6 separate regions of the Homo sapiens genome follow, and all the other regions are linked to region 5. The links are contacts of gene promoters, found by promoter capture Hi-C in blood cells and fetal thymus (Javierre and others, 2016). All regions are on one chromosome and are shown on one strand. Each heading gives the region's core, a stretch centred on a gene start or on the middle of the fragment in contact. The rest is flanking DNA. Distances are from core to core; before and after follow the strand shown.

What was found. Contacts are between HindIII fragments. The CHiCAGO score rates a contact against its expected background, and 5 or more counts as called.
Region 1: a contact is called between a fragment that was not itself captured here and the fragment with the promoter of MESTIT1 in region 5, in 1 of 17 cell types (endothelial precursors). The highest score is 6.5, in endothelial precursors.
Region 2: a fragment that was not itself captured here is called in contact with the fragment with the promoter of MESTIT1 in region 5 in 9 of 17 cell types (megakaryocytes, fetal thymus, naive CD8 T cells and 6 more); the score reaches 11.6 in megakaryocytes.
Region 3: a fragment that was not itself captured here is called in contact with the fragment with the promoter of MESTIT1 in region 5 in 10 of 17 cell types (megakaryocytes, naive CD8 T cells, M1 macrophages and 7 more); the score reaches 14.5 in megakaryocytes.
Region 4: a fragment that was not itself captured here is called in contact with the fragment with the promoter of MESTIT1 in region 5 in 1 of 17 cell types (megakaryocytes); the score reaches 6.7 in megakaryocytes.
Region 6: a contact is called between a fragment that was not itself captured here and the fragment with the promoter of MESTIT1 in region 5, in 2 of 17 cell types (endothelial precursors and erythroblasts). The highest score is 6.4, in endothelial precursors.

Annotation. Positions count from the first base shown.
Region 1 is chr7:130,770,196-130,772,895 of GRCh38, forward strand. All of the region lies in intron 3 of LOC105375508 (a long non-coding RNA gene), which reads left to right. Among named protein-coding and RNA genes, the nearest start is that of KLF14, 37 kb to the left of the region's middle. The HindIII fragment of the contact is 737 bases long and covers 990-1,726 here.
Region 2 is chr7:130,208,920-130,211,619 of GRCh38, forward strand. All of the region lies in intron 1 of SSMEM1 (serine rich single-pass membrane protein 1), which reads left to right. Among named protein-coding and RNA genes, the nearest start is that of SSMEM1, 2.4 kb to the left of the region's middle. The HindIII fragment of the contact is 3,567 bases long and covers 1-2,700 here.
Region 3 is chr7:130,226,562-130,229,261 of GRCh38, forward strand. No RefSeq gene overlaps it. Among named protein-coding and RNA genes, the nearest start is that of SSMEM1, 20 kb to the left of the region's middle. The HindIII fragment of the contact is 226 bases long and covers 1,330-1,555 here.
Region 4 is chr7:130,188,775-130,191,474 of GRCh38, forward strand. All of the region lies in intron 6 of TMEM209 (transmembrane protein 209), which reads right to left. Among named protein-coding and RNA genes, the nearest start is that of TMEM209, 15 kb to the right of the region's middle. The HindIII fragment of the contact is 4,523 bases long and covers 1-2,700 here.
Region 5 is chr7:130,489,701-130,492,400 of GRCh38, forward strand. It overlaps MESTIT1 (MEST intronic transcript 1, antisense RNA), which reads right to left and starts at 1,277. Exons shown (of 2, transcript NR_004382.2): 1 at 1,142-1,277; 2 at 1-267. It overlaps MEST (mesoderm specific transcript), which reads left to right and starts at 2,385. Exons shown (of 12, transcript NM_002402.4): 1 at 2,385-2,639. The coding sequence starts at 2,614. RefSeq lists a silencer at 1,213-1,422. The HindIII fragment of the contact is 7,997 bases long and covers 1-1,852 here.
Region 6 is chr7:130,750,011-130,752,710 of GRCh38, forward strand. All of the region lies in intron 3 of LOC105375508 (a long non-coding RNA gene), which reads left to right. Among named protein-coding and RNA genes, the nearest start is that of KLF14, 17 kb to the left of the region's middle. The HindIII fragment of the contact is 658 bases long and covers 1,105-1,762 here.

The DNA of each region.
Region 1 (2,700 bases), core at 108-2,607, 280 kb after region 5:
TCTTTTTATGGTTTAATAGCTCATTTTCTTTTATCACTGAATAATAGTCCATTGTATGGATATACAACAGTTTGTTTATCCATCCACTTATTTAAGGGAATCTTGGTTGCTTCCAGTTTCTGGAAAGTATGAATAAAGCTGCTATAAACGTTCATTTACAGGTTTCTGTGTGCACATAAGTTTTCAACTTAATTGGGTAAATACCTAGGAGCACAGATGCTGTATTGTAATGTAAAACTATATTTACGTTTGTATGAAATTGCCAAACTGTCTTCCAAAGTGGCTGTAACAGTTTGCATTCCCGTCAGCAATGACTGGGAGTTCCTGTTGCTCCACATCTTGCTCCACATCCTCATCATCATTTGATATTTTCAGAATTTTGGATTTTAGCCATTTTAATAGTGTAGCAGTATCTCATTGTTATCCTAATTTGCAATTACCTAATGACAATTTATTTTGTTTTCATATGCTTATTTGTTGCCATATATTCTCTGGTGAGACATCTGTTCTGATCTTTTGCCTGTTTTAAAATTAGATTGTTTGTTTACTTATTACTGAGTTTTGTTTTGTTTTGAGACAGAATCTCGTTCTGTCACCCAGGCTGGAGTGCAGTGTTGCAGTCTTGGCTCACTGCGAGCTCCGCCTCCCGGGTTCACGCCATTCTCCTGCCTCAGCCTCCGGAGTAGCTAGGACTACAGGCGCCCACCACCATGCCTGGCTAATTTTTTTGTATTTTTAGTAGAGAACGGGTTTCACTGTGTTAGCCAGGATGGTCTCGATCTCCTGACCTTGTGATTTGCCTGCCTCGGCCTCCCAAAGTGCTGGGATTACAGGCGTGAGCCACTGTGCCCGGCCACGTATTACTGAGTTTTAAGAATTATTTGTCTATTTTGGATATGTGTTCTATCAAATGTGTGTTTCACAAATATTTTCTTCCAGTGTGTGGCTTGCCTTTGCATTCTCTTAACAATGTATGTCACAGAGCAAAAAGCTTTAATTTTAATGAAGTTCAAGCTGTCAATTTTTTATTTCATGAATTGCGGTTTTGGTGTTCTATCTAAAAACTCATTGCCAAACCCAGGGTCATCTACATTTTCCACTATGTTAAATATTTCAGGCAGTTTTATAGCTTTCTGTTTTACATAGAGCTATGATCCATTTTGAGTTAATTTTTATGAAAGATGTAAGGTCTGTATCTAGATTCTTTCTTTCTTTCATTTTTTTTTTCCTGCATGTGGATGCCCACTTGCTTCAGCACCATTCGGTGAAAACACCATTCTTTTTCCATTGAATTGCCTTAACTCATTTGTCAGACATCAGTTGACTATATTTGTATGGGTCTATCTCTGAGCTCTCCATCTGTTCTACTGATCTATTTGTCTATTCTTTGCTTTTGTTTTGTTTTTTGAGACTGGGTCTCTGTTGCCCAGTGGTGTGATCCCAGCTCACTGCAAACTTGACCTCCCCAGACTGAGGTGGTTTCCCCACCTCAGCCTCCTGAGTAGCTGGGACCACAGGCATGTGCCACCAAACCTGGCTAATTTTTGTATTTTTTGTAGATATGAGGGATGGGGTCTCACCATGTTGCCAGACTGGTCTTGAACTCCTGGGCTCAAGTGATCCACCCACCTTGGCCTTCCAAAATGCAGGGATTATGGGCATGAGCCACCACACCTGTCCTATTTGTCTTTTCCTTCACTAATACCCCATTATCTTGATTACTGTAAGCTTTATAGTAGGTCGTGGGGTCAGGTTGTGTCAGTCCTTTGATTTTGTTCTTCTTTAGTATTTTCTGAGTATTTTGGATCTTTTGCCTTTCATATAAACTTTAGAATCAGTTTATCAATGTACACAAAATAACTGGCTTGGATTTTGATCAAGATTGCATTGAATCTATATATTAAGTTGAGAAGAACTGGCATCTTAAAAATATTGTCTTCTTATCCATAAACATAGACTCTCTCTCCATTTATTTAGATCTTCTTTAATTTCTTTCACCACAGTTTTGTAATTTGTCTCACAAAGATCTTGTAAAAATTTTGTTAAATTTATACCTATGTGTTTCATTGCTTTTTGGTACTAATGTAAATGATATTATGTTTTAAATTTTTAACTCTAATAGTTCATATTGACATATGATGATATGTCATATACATAGAATTGAGAGATTTCTATGTACTGCCTCTGTTTGTTACATAATTAAATCCTCATAAAAATTCCATAAGGTAGGTTCTTTTAGTATCCACATGATATGGTTTGCCTGTGTCCCCACCCAAATCTCATCTTGAATTGTAGCTCCCACAATTCCCACATGTCGTGGGAGGAACCTGGTGGGAGTTGATTGAATTATGGGGATGGGTCATTCCTGCGCTGTTCTTGTCATAGTGAATGAGTCTCACGAGATCTGATGGTTTTGAAAAAATGGAAGTTTCCCTGCACAAGCTCTCTCTTTGCTTGCTGCCATCCATGTAAGATGTGACTTGCTCCCCCTTGCCTTGTGCTATGATTGTGAGGCTTCCGCAGCCACATGGAACTGTAAGTCCAATTAAACCTCTTTCTTTTGTAAATTGTGCAGTTTTTTCAGCAGCTTGAAAATGGACTAATACACCACATTTTGGAGATAAGAAAAATTAAGACAAAGTTTAAACGACTTGCTCCATTTCCATAGTGACTAGGTGACAGAGCTAGTATTCAAATCCA
Region 2 (2,700 bases), core at 55-2,554, 280 kb before region 5:
TGGTGCAATCTTGGCTCACTACAACCTCCGCCTCCCGGATTCAAGTGACTCTCCTGCCTCAGCCTCCCTTGTAGCTGGGACCACAGGCGCAAGCCACCACGCTCTGCTAACTTCTGTATTTTTAGTACAGATGGGGTTTCACCATGTTGGCCAGGCTGGTCTCAAACTCCTGACCTCAAGTAGTCTGCCCGCTTTGGCCTCCCAAAGTGCTGGGATTACAGGCATGAGCCACCGCGCCCAGCCGTAACCAAGCTCTTATAATTTGCTGACATGATATCCTTGCTGGCCATTAATACCAGGCTGATGATTAAGAAAACCACCATCATTTAGCATTATAGCCATAGGCCTGGGCTGGCAGTGGTAAGACTTAATGCTCTATGAGCTCGGATGGGGTGGAGAAGGTTTGTTATGTCCATGCCAGCTGGATTCCATTCTAATCAAAGACTCTTTGATAACCACCACCTCCTGGTGAAGAACTTTCATCTAAAGTCTAAATGCTTCTTAAGGTAAATACTTTGCCAAAAGGAGATTTAGAATAATGATAGCTTATATGTGTCTTAGACTCCCTAGCTAAGTATATTGAATTTGGCCTGGCAAGCAAAGCTACTTTAGAAAATTACCAAAAAAATTTCATCATGAATTAAGAGGTCTAAGCTATTTTTTTTATTTTTATTTTTTGAGACGGAGTCTCGCCCTGTTGCCCAGGCTGGAGTGCAATGGCACGATCTTGGCTCACTGCAACCTCAGCCTCCTGGGTTCCAGTGATTCTCCTGCCTCAGCCTCCTGAGTAGCTGGGATTATAGGCGTGCATCTCCACGCGCAGCTAATTTTTGTATTTTTAGTAGAGATGGAGTTTCACCATGTTGGCCAGGCTGGTGTCGAACTCCTGACCTCGTGATCCACCCGCCTCGGCCTCCCAAAGTGCTGGCATTACAGGCGTGAGCCACCACGCCTGGCCCAGTCTAAGCTATTTTTTCTGCTCCCTTGCTTGCATCAGCTCTTGGGAGTCATACAGCCTTGAGCTTCCAGGACCTCAAGAGAGCATGTGGTCCAGCCTTCTGTTTGTAGGCAAGTAAGTTATCATTATCCCTCCCCCACTCATTTTTTTATTGATAAGCCCCAAGTAAATTAAGTGACTTGTCCAATGTCACAAAAGTGTTAGTGACAGAAGGGGAATATACCCAGATTTCCTGTCAAATTATTTGTTTGCTTCAAAGCATAGTTTGAAATGTCCACTTAGATCTACTCAGTCCTGATTAAAACCTTAATTATTTTAGAGGTTTCGTTTTTCACTTTGTACCCTTGTGGCAGCTACAATCAGCTAGACTGCTTCTTCTGAAGGGTCCCAGATTTGAAATCTGAGAACAATATGAGAGCTAGTAAAGGAGGATGGAATTTTTCCTTCACTTTGAACTTCTTCATTTTCTCTGCTAAACTATGAGGCTTTATTTACAAACCTTGAAGTAATGGTAAAAGCACGATGGAAATGTGGTGGTAATTATCCTCCAACATGAAGCACGCTGATTTCCTCTGAATTTGCCACTTTTTAAAGTGGCATTTACCCTTTTGCTTTCAGACTATAAATACTATATTTAGTTTATATTTTTATTTTGTGTTTATTCAGATTGCTAGTGCTGGTATTTTTCTGGACAATGGTAATCCAAACACCTTATTTTGCTTATGTGGAAACTGAGCTTAAGAGGTGTTAAGTGGCTTGGAAAAATCAAGAGTTGTTAGTGGCAGAAAGAGAGCCACGGCCCACATTTTCTACTCTGCCCCTCAGGGCAGGCACTCCTGCTGTTTTCACTCACTGAGTCACAAAGACAGTTAATAAAATGCTTTTCGTAACCACAGTTCATATGATCCCACTTAGTTTAATGCAAAATCTTTCTTTTGATTTTGTGGCTATGTTTTGATTTGACATCAAATGTGAGAGCTTTCTGTGGAAATGATATAAGCCTAATAAGTGTTTTTAAATACCTTCTCCTGTCTATTACAAAAGTACACATTATATAGAAAATGTGGAAATTATAGGGCAGAAGACAAAATAAAATAAAAATCACTCCAGATTATGTAGAAATAACCAACTACTGTTAACTTTTAGGTTTATAAACTTCCAATTATTTTGATTTTCTTTACATATATTAAATTTATTTTTTTCCTTTTCTATAACCTAAGTGATACATATTAAATTTAAAATATTTAAGCCTCTTCCAAAAGCATTTTTTATAAAGTGGTATCTTTTTTTTTTTTTTTTTGAGACAGAGTCTCGCTGTCACCCAAGCTGGAGTGCAGTGGTGCAATCTCTGCTCACTGCAAGCTCCGCCTCTCAGGTTCACACCATTCTCCTGCCTCAGCCTCCTGAGTAGCTGGGACTACAGGCACCCACCACCACACCCGGCTAATTTTTTTTGTATTTTAAGTAGAGACAGGGTTTCACCGTGTTAGCCAGGATGGTCTCGATCTCCTGACCTTGTGATCTGCCCGCCTCAGCCTCCCAAAGTGCTGGGATTACAGGCATGAGCCACCGTGTCTGGCCAGAAAGTGGTATCTTAAAAGTGAACTCCGCTTTCAAGATTTTTGGAGAATGATTGCTGTAACCCAGAAAACAAAAAGGCACCTCATTAAAGATGCTTGCCTACCATTGCAGAGATCAGATATTAAGAATGAGCTGAGGATCTTAGATTGCAGTTATAAATA
Region 3 (2,700 bases), core at 193-2,692, 260 kb before region 5:
ACCTTATGACATCAGCTTGCCTCCTCTGCAGGGGTTAAGCCTGGCCAGCTTAAGACAAAAAGGGAGAAATGGAGACTTAGCTGGTGAGGATAGAAATGAACTTTGCACTGACTGTTGAGAAACAAGGGACAGTAGGAACTAAAACAGTGAGGTTGATGGCCAAGGGTTTGAGTGGAGGAAAAGGAGGAGGGGATCTGGGTTCAGACCGCATGGGGAGTAAGAACTCTGATGTGAGTGGGCTACCTTGCTCCATCATCCCAGGACATGGTGAACCATAGAAAGAGGAGCAAAACCATGGTCAGGTACAGATCTGGTGAGAAGAGACGGTTATGAAAGTGGGACTGCAGACACTAGTCATGGCTGGATGTTGCTTTTGTGCAGAGTCTGGTGTGGGCTCTACACCAAGCTGAACACCATCAAGAAAACCTGATAGCAACTACGACTCTTCCCCAGTGCCACTCCTTTATCTAATGAAGGAGTGCTATCTTCCAACACATTCTAGAAGTAGTACTTTGAAAATGACAACCCATTAGCAGATTGTGAAATAAATTTAGTGGGTCATGATTCGCATTTATTAAATAATAAACAGAAAGTTGGTTGGGTGTGGTGGCTTACGCCTATAATCCCAACACTTTGGGAGGCCAAGGTGGGCGGATTACTTGAGGCCAGAAGTTCGAGACCAACCTGGCCAACATGGCGAAACTCTGTCTCTATTAAAAATACAAAAATTAGCCGGACATGGTGGCACACGCCTGTAATCCCAGTTGCTTGGGAGGCTGAGGCAGGAGAATCATTTGAACTTGAGAGGCAGAGGTTGCAGTGAGCTGAGATCATGCCATTGCACTCCAGCCTGGGCAACAGAGCAAGACTCTGTCTAAAAAAAATAAATAAATAAAAATAATAGAAAGTAATAGCATATCACACATAACAAGGGTAAGTATTATTAAGTGTGTGTGTACTGAATTGCAATGTAAAATGTATTTCTTATTATGTGTGATAAGAGAAAAGGGCTGAGCACAGTGGCTCACACCTATAATCTCAGCATTTTAGGAAGCTGAGGCAGGAGGATCACTTGAGCCCAGGAATTAGAGACCAGCCTGGGCAACATAGTGAGACCCCTGTCTCTAGAAAAATATTTAAAAATAGAAAAAAAAAAGATAAAAACAAAAGTCACTGCTCTAGAGTAGTTTTCTTTGTAGATTTTCCTGTATCATCTAGCAATACCACTAAATTAGTGAAGGCACTATCACTCCATGCTTTCCCAATTGTCTGCTAGGAATTAGTAAATCCTCACCCACACTATAGGATGGACCGTCTCAATTAGTGAAAAGCTTGAATTAAATTATACTACTTTAAAAGAACTTCAGGTTTATTATTTTCAAATACAAAAAGTGGAAGCAAGCTAACCAACTGTTGCCTGGTACACAGGGGTGGGTTTTGGCTTGGTGAATAGACAAGAGTTATTTGTAATTGACATTTCAAAGAAGCCTAAGAAACAGGCCAGCCTTTGTTTAAATCATAATTACCCTGTTTGTATGTAAAAGAATACTTCTAAAGCTTTTCAAAACAACTGGTTCTTTTAAGCAGATAATTATTCCCCTTCCAATCTTGTTTACACTACTATTCAGAACTTCAGTGAACTTTTTTTTTCATAGATAGTACAAAGGTTAACTTCAGCAAACCCTTCCTCAAATTATCACAAATTCCCAATTAGTGGATTCTAAACAGGGTTTCCTTGTAACAATATGCCGAAGACTTGCATGATGTGTTTTTTATTGCTTTGAATAACATCTGACAAGTTTCCAAGTACCAGGCCACCTGGATATTCTCTATCTGTCAGGAAAAGATAGAGGTCAAAGAGGTGGGTGGGAGGGTGGGGGAAATATAAATCAGGCCCATACATTCCTATACTATTAGAGGAAGACAAAAGGAAGAAAATGCTTTTTTCCCCCCCAAATATCTATTACATACCAACTGAATCTTAAATAATAGGCACTTTTTGGTGTAAAGAAGAGTTGCACTTACCATCTAAATTTAACAAAACCTCAGATGAAAATAGAAAGCTGACCTTTTTTGTATGTAGACTGGCAGTTATTGGAGAGGCCCAGGGAAGTTGGCAAGAGAAAGATGCATTATAAATAAATTATACTTGTCCTTTCTCGTTATTTCTTATTGCAAATTTCCACTCAGTGCACAAAGGGATAATGCATGAAATCCTTTTTTTAAACAAAAATTTTATGATCCTGAGCAATACTGTTTTCCAGTTCTTTCATCTTCTGAGCTCGGCCTTTTTCACAAGCTGTTCCTCAAGCCGCCTTATTGCAGGGGCCTGTTGTCTCTAATTGTCTTTGTTTATTAGGGCCCTCTGTCACCATGAAGTTTCACGTGTTCAAATCTTGATTTAGCAGTGAGAACACCAGGCTGAGAGCTAACTCTGCTACTAATTAGTGTAAATCACAAAAGGAGAAGTGGAGAGATAAAAACCAGGTCCTAGTGGAAGGGTCTACAGCCAGGGTTAGTAAGACTGACTGGCAGGTCAGAGGATTGAGGAAGAGACGAAAGGGCTTGGAGAAATGCCACTTAGGGTCAGCGTCTTTTTGTCTCTTTTCTCTGATTGTACCCCTTCAGATACAGAAAGGGTCTGAAGTAGCCTATGTTGATTCTTTTCCTTTCTTCCATTTTGTTCCATTGTTCCTGCTC
Region 4 (2,700 bases), core at 109-2,608, 300 kb before region 5:
TATTATATATTACCGACAAAGAGACAAAGCAGCATCACGTATCTCCTGATGTGATACACTGAAAAGGACATGCCACCACCCATGTTGTATTCTTGCCAGAAAATAATATTTAAACGGAATCTAACAGTAACAAAATGATCAAACAAATCTGAATTTTCAAAACAACAGCCTCATCTCTTCAAAATGTAAATGTCATAAAAGAAAACAAAACAAAAAATCCCACAAAACCCACACTATCCAAATGGTTTCGATTTAAGGAGACAACAGAAGCACAAGTAAATGCAATATGTGATACCTGATTGGATCCTGCATCAATAAAAGAAAAAAAAAGCACTACAAGGGTCAGTATTGGGTCAACTGGGGAAATGTGAATATGAACACCCATAGTATCTTAAGCATGACAATCATATTGTCATTATTCATTTATTTATTTTTTCTTTGAGACAGAGTCTCACTCTGTCACCCAGGCTGGAGTGCAGTGGTGTGATCTCGGTTCACTGCAACCTCCGCCTCCCGGATTCAAGCGATTCTCCTGCCCCAGCCTCCAGAGTGGCTGGGATACAGGCTCGCGTCACCAAGCCTCGCTAATTTTTTAGTAGAGGTGGGGTTTCACCATGTTGGTCAGAAAATCCTGACCTGGTCTCAAAATCCTGACCTCATGATCCACCTGCCTCAGCCTCCCAAAGTGCTGGGATTACAAGCGTGAGCCACTGAGCCCAGCCCATATTGTAGTTATAAAGGAAGATGTCTTGGTCTTAGGAGATGCATGTGAAATATTCAGGAATGAAGTGGAATGATGCCCGCAACTTCCTTTCAAATGATTCAGCAAAAAAGTGTGCATGAGAGAGAGAATATGAGGGCCTGGTTTTTCACTACTGGAGAAAGTTACAAATACGAAAAGTGGGGAGGACAGAATAAACTGTATAGCTGGACTGGAACTAGAAGTAACATTATAAACTCATGGTTTTTTAAAAACATAGAATAACACATATAGATGTGTGTGTGTACATATATCTGTGTATATGTCCATACAAATATTTCCTAGAGGACCTGGAGTAATGATACCTCAATAATAACAGTGTGCCCAGTGCCCAGATAATAATTTCTAAGTATCATTCTCCATTAAAAGGAATCAGGGCTCTTAGAGAAACAGACTGACTCTGGAGCTAGCCAGGGAAAACACAAAATGAGCCTGACCTATTTTGTGGTGCTAGAAAGGTGGCGCGGGCAGGGGGATTAGCTCAAAGAATGATAGTGTCATGTCAAAAGAACAGAGAAGTCAGCTTACAGAGGATCCCACTAGCCCAATCTGAGACAATCAAATCGTCAACATAAGTGAATGATTAGGGAGAAGAAACCTTTATCTTACAGAATACCAACAAATAAATGTAAAAGGCAGCTGCACAATAATGTAAATGTACTTACCACCACTTAATTAAACACTTCAAATGGCTAATATTGGGCCAGGCGCGGTGGCTCACGGCTGTAATTCCCAGCACTTTGGAGGCCGAGGCGGGCAGATCACCTGAGGTCAGGAGTTTGAGACCAGCCTGGCCAACAAGGGGAAACCCTGTCTCTACTAAAAATACAAAAATTAGCCAGGCATGGTGGCAGATGCCTGTAATCCTAGCTACTTGGAAAGCTGAGGCAGGAGAATCGCTTGAACCTGGGAGGCAGAAGTTGCAGTAAGCCGAGATCGCACCACTGCACTCCAGCCTGGGCGACAGAGCCAAGACTCCATCTCAAAAAAAGAAAAAAAAAAGGCTAATATTGTAAATTTTATGTATACTGTATTACAGTAAAAAAAAAAAAGGAAAAATGTTAAAGGAATAAACATAGAAGAAATGATGAAATTGGAAAGCTCCATGACAACCAACATAGTAATAATTTTGAAAATAATCTTAAAAGGATGTTAGAACTAGTAAGTCAAAGTTTGATGGGGTCAGGCACAATGGCTTACGCCTATAATCCCAGCACTTTTGGAGGCCAAAGTGGGTGGATTGTGTGAGCTCAGGAGTTCGAGACCAGCCTGGGCAACATGGCAAAACCCGGTCTCTACTAAAAACACAAAAATTAGCATGGCATGGTGGCATGCATCTGTAGTCCCAGCTACTCAGGAGGCTGAGGTGGGAGAGGCACCTGAGCGCTGAATTCAAGGCTGCAGCGAGCCAAGACTGCACCACTGCAACAGTGAGACCTAGTCTCAAAAAAAAAAAAAAAGTTTGATGGGGACCAAATAACTATATAGTTTTAGATCAGTAGCTTCCCACAAAATACTTATTAATCATTTATTAATTTGCACAAAATACTTAATTTTCGAAAACCCATGGGTATAGAAGGGCTAAAAGTATAGGGATAGAGATAGATATACCAGCCAGATACTAACCAAAAGGAAATTAATATAGATGTGTCAATGTCAGACAAAATAGACTTTAAGGCAAAAAGCCTAAGAGATAAAGATAAGTGGCATAATTCACCAGAATGATATTCACAATTCTGAATTTACATGCATTTAACGTAATCTCGTATGTATACTTAGCAAATCTGACAGAATTGCAAGAAAACATTTAATGGAAGACAATCAACGGGAGCTTTTGGCACACTTTCTTAATAACCAATAGATAAAGCAGATAAAAATTAGTAAGATAAAGTATTTAAGAATACCATCAAGAAGTGTGACAGTGAACAAATATAGAGCCC
Region 5 (2,700 bases), core at 27-2,526:
AAGTTTTTCCTAACTCCTCGGCCAGACATCAATAATGTCTGAAGGGAGGATTTCTCCCGAGTGCCAGACTTGGAATTCCTGTTGTCTTCAGGAGCTCTCCCTGGCGCTCCCTCCTTCCCCCAGGGCCTTTAAACTGTTTCTCCTCCAGTCTGCCCACTTGATCCATGTGGGTAGACATGTTCCATGGCCTTCAGAATAAGATCTTTTGTGGGGTACTCAGTCCATAAACAGAAAATTGCCTTCATCTTGGATGCTGGTGTTTCTGGCCTGGTGAGAATGAAAGTGTGGAATTTGTTTGTAGGACTCAAAGTTTCCATTAACAATAAATATGAAAAATATATAATGCAAAGGCTTTTGTTATTGTTATTATTAAAATAGGAAAGCCTTTACCTTTTTGGAAGAACCGATTTAGATTTTGCAGAGTAATTCAGTCTTTAAAAGGTAGTGGTAGTTAAAATAGGTAATCTTTGACTTGTAAAGAGACTAATTTAAATTTTGTTAAGTAACCAATTAAGGCCATAAAGAGTTTAAATCCATCTGTGGCTTCTCATTTTCTCTAGAACAAATTCCTAATTCCCTACGATGAAATTCTCTTGCTATCCTAATTTTTTGCCGGCTCAAAGGACTAACCGTTTTCCCCAAACACGCGGCCCTGAGCCTCCGGTGCTTTGCGAAAGCCGTCCCCTCCGGCTGGAATGTTCTTTGTCTCTCTGGTAAATGTCTATTCATCATTCAAGACCACCCTTCGCCCCTCCCCTTAATTACTTCCTCCCCTGTGCGCCCTCAAATTCTTGTACTCATTCAAGCAGTATTTATTAGGGGCCAGCTTTGTGGCCGGCACCGTGGCGGGCTCTGGGGCTACAAAAGGTGAATAATACTTGGGCTCTGCCTCTGAGGGCCTTACACGTTAGGGAGGAGTGGGTCAACTGCCACAAACGTCGCTAGGAAATTAAAAGGAAAATTTTACAAAGTGGCAGTTCTTGTCTGTCTTCCCCTCCAGATGGCCCGTGTGTTGTTTTCGGGCCGGGGCTATTTCTCATTTATTTCGCACCCCCGGTTCTTAGTGCCCTGTAGGTGCTAAATCAGCATTTGTTTCATGAGTGCTTTTTCTGGGGGCAACCAGACCCCTGCAGAAGTGTACCTGTGTTGTGCCAGAGGTTCTGATGATAGGCTTATAGGCGGTAGTTTCCTCAGTGTCCGTGGGTCGCCCCCGGTCCCGGGTTGGATGCCCCGCGGTCCAGCACCGAACCTTTCGGGGTGCAGAGTTGCAGAGCCGCGGAGGGCCCGGGCCGTGCGCAGCCGAAGGGAGGCCTGCAGCGCCCCCTCTGGATGCAGCGGGCACCGGCCGGCCGCCCCGCTCACCCGCTCGCACCCCACGTTTGTTCACCAGTATTTCAGTTTACGGTCAGAAAATGAACACAGACACTTCGTGATACTCTACACTTTTCAAAGGCGTAAGGGATGCCTTTTAAAGGATTATGGATTAGAAAAATTCCTCCCTCTTTCTTGTGCCTCTGGGCCCTTGCATTGTGATTCTATCTTACGTAAATAAAGGGGGCTTTGCTCTCCTAATTGTGCCCACTGTTCTGTGCAGCGCGGACCGGCGCATGCAGCGAGCGGGGCTGCGAGGGCGCTGCTGTGGCCAGGCGTCTGGCATGCTGACCACGTCGCGCTGCTGTAAAGGAAACCTGCCCCGCGCAGCGGCGGTGGCTGGAGCGGGAGAAACCGGACTTTGTGCAACTTTGGCCATAGTGGCCATCCCATGAATCTGTTTACTAGCTTGGTGGTGGGTCCAACAGAGCTTGTTGCTCCCTAGCCGCTTGCTCGTGCCCTTGGTGGTTACCGGTAGTTAAGCTTAGGGCGCATAGGGCCCTCGTGGCTCGCCACCTCTCACGGTTCAGTACCCACGCTTCGAACGAGGGATGGGAGCAGGCGCCACGGCCGGCACCCCAGAGCCCTGCTGCCCCTTAGTTCGAGCGGCCATCCTCCTGTGGGGCTTGTGGGCAGCCTGTGGGGTTTGTGGGCGGCCTGTGGGGTTTGTGGGTGGTCTAAGGAAAGAGTTGGGGCACTCAGGGGTCTGCTGTTTTTGCCCGTGGCCTTAACTCATCAGGGGAGGGTTTCTGCAGCAGAATCTCGGGCTCAGGGTTGGCGGTTAACGAGGGAGCAGCGGGGTCTTGGGGAGGGGGCTCGACACCCCTGAAGGTGCCCCCTAAAGGAGCCACTGTTAGAGGGGCACCCCATCTTTGTGGCCATGGCGGTGGTAGAGCGGCTGGGAGGGGCTCTGCGGCGAGCAAGGGAGCAGGCGGTAGGGGTTCTGCGGCGATGGGCGGGCTAGGGGCGGGGCGCGGGTGGGCTCTAAAAGTCGGTGCCCACTCGCTCCGCGCTGCCGCGGCAACCAGCACACCCCGGCACCTCCTCTGCGGCAGCTGCGCCTCGCAAGCGCAGTGCCGCAGCGCACGCCGGAGTGGCTGTAGCTGCCCGGCGCGGCGCCGCCCTGCGCGGGCTGTGGGCTGCGGGCTGCGCCCCCGCTGCTGGCCAGCTCTGCACGGCTGCGGGCTCTGCGGCGCCCGGTGCTCTGCAACGCTGCGGCGGGCGGCATGGGATAACGCGGCCATGGTGCGCCGAGATCGCCTCCGCAGGTGAGTGTGCGGTGGGAACGAGGGGGTGTGGCTGGCGGCCCTGGGACTAGGGCGCAGGCGA
Region 6 (2,700 bases), core at 184-2,683, 260 kb after region 5:
AATACAGAGCATCTGGAACTCTCAAACTCTGGAGCCCTAAAGCCCAGTGTGCTAGACGGGAGAGATGCCTCCAAGGTCTTATCTCTAGCCACTGGCTTCCGCCATTTGTATGTGGTGTTCTATTTCTAATGTGTAGGCCAGCTTATAAAGTTAAACACACATTTACCACATGATCCAGTAATCCCTCTCCTAGGTAGTTAGCCAAGAGAGCTGAAAACTTATATTCACCCAGAAACCTTTATGTGACTGTTCATGATGGTTTTATTCATAATTGCCCAAAATCAAAAACCAGAAACAACCCAGATGTTGTTCTGCTGGTGAACGGACCAACGCACTGGCACTTCATGCAATGGAATGATAATCAGCAATGAAAAGGGGCAGACTGTGAGACACACAGCAGTGTGGATGGACTTCATCTGCATTATGCCAGGAGAAAAAGTCAGATAAAGGCTACCTACTTTATGGTTCCATTTGTATGAGGAATCCCTTAAAAACAGATCCGTCGTTGCCACAGGCTGGCTGTGGGAGGAAGGGCAGGAATGATTTTGGAGGGTTACAGAACTGTTCAGTATCTTGTTTGAGGGGGTGCTTACATGACTGTATAAATTTGTTAAAAACTCATAGAGTGGTACACAAAGAGAGAATTTTGCTGTTTATGAATTTCAAAATGTGAATTTAAAAATTACTGTGAAAAAATGTAGACTATCTTGGTAATTGCACAGTAGGATAGGAAGGTGTGAAAACTCAGACGCTGTGAAGGAAAAGACTTACAGATCTGATGACTACAAAATATTAAACTTTTATAGGACAAAAGTCACCCTAAACAAAAAATTAGGCCATCGGCTTGTGAATATATATATTCAGCAAATATTACAGACAAAGGACTAACATCCATAATGCAAAGGGTGCCTACAAATTAACATGTAAAAAGGTAAATACTATAAAAGACAAGTGGGCAAAGTACATGAGGTACAGGGTAAGTATAGGGAGTTCACAGAAACCAAAGAGTCAGTAGCTCGGAAGAGATTCACAACCTCACTTTCCATCAGTGAGCTGTGAATGAAAGCAATGATACAATATCATTTTCAACCATCAGATAGGCAAAGCTTTTAAAGATTGTTAAAACCCAACACCAGGAAGGGTGTGAGGCAACAGTCCCGTAGAGTTTTTGGGAGTGTATACATCTGTACAACTTTTTGAAAGATAATTTGGTAGTAGCTATCAAAAACCCAAACGTGCATACTTTTTGACTCAGCAATTTCACTTCTAGGTATTAATACTATAAAATACTCACATAGGTGCACAAATATATATATAAAAGATTTTTTATTAGAACATCATAGTAGTCAAAAATAGGGACCAAATTAAACATCTATCAGCAGAGGAATGGTTACATAAATGAAGTGAGTCCGTAGGGTGGGCTGCTGTGACAGGATGGATGACACATATGTGAGTACTGATAGAGTACTGTGTAAATTTATTTATAATGAAATGCATTATTAAGTGAAAAAAGCAAATAAGAAAACATGCATATTGTCCTATTTAAAAAAAATTACAAATCTACATGCACACACACATACACACACATAGAAGGTCTGGGTAGATACACATCAAAGCTCAGGCAGTGGTTCTTAAAGTAGGGGATCATGAAGGAAAGGTACACATTTAACTCAACAAAATTTGGTCTTACTGGAACTTTAAAAATGCAAATGTGTTTATGTTTTGTTTTATTTTGCTTAACAAATATCTTGGTATTTTACTAAGCTTTTAAGTTAGTGAAATAAAGAGGCATAATTCAAACATATTTATACACTTTAAATTAACTAAGCCCAAGTAGAAAACAAAAAGGTATATAATTCCCAAATCATGAATGAGAAGAAAGAATAAATTTGATTACTACAGTAAAAAAAGAAATAAGAAACAGGAAGTATTACAAATAGAAACCATAAAATAAAGTGACAGAACAAACACCAAGTATAACTTTTGTCATGACAGATGTGGCTTAAAAATATCTTTCAAAACACAAAAGACTCAGATTGAGTAAAAAAAATACAATTTAGTCGTAAGCTGTTTACAAAAGGAGAAACTGCAAAATGAAATTGACAGAGAAGGTAGAAAAGTAATGAGATGGGCAAGAATATCAGAGGCAAATGCAACCCAAAGAACCCATCCATGCATGCTAATATTAAAATCACATGAAATAGAATTCAGGATGAGAATATCAAATGGAACAAATATAATTATTTTTATATGAATAAGTGATATAATGTACTATGAAGGCAATACAGTCAATATAAATGCTTCCAAATAGGGAACTGGTGAATTATATTATGATACCTATTTATTTACAGTGAACCTCTACACAGCCAGGAAATTGCTAATGTAGAAAACATATAATGACCTGCAAATGTTACAAACTATAAAGCAAAAACAAGGTTGTATACTGTAAGTATGACATGATCTCAATTTCGTTTTAACATTTTATTAAAAAGAAAAACGACTGGAAGGCTCACAGTATCAGGGTGCCATGCGGAGGGAGGACAGACATAGCGAAGCAGTCCTGAAACAACACTCGGTCACGTGTGAGGACATAATAATGGGTGTTCAGCCTGGTGGCTGGACAGCTCTGCCTTCAGACCAGCTTTAGCTGCTATGTCTTTTCCCCTTTGTTTTCCAGCCTTCTCACTTCCTATATCTCTT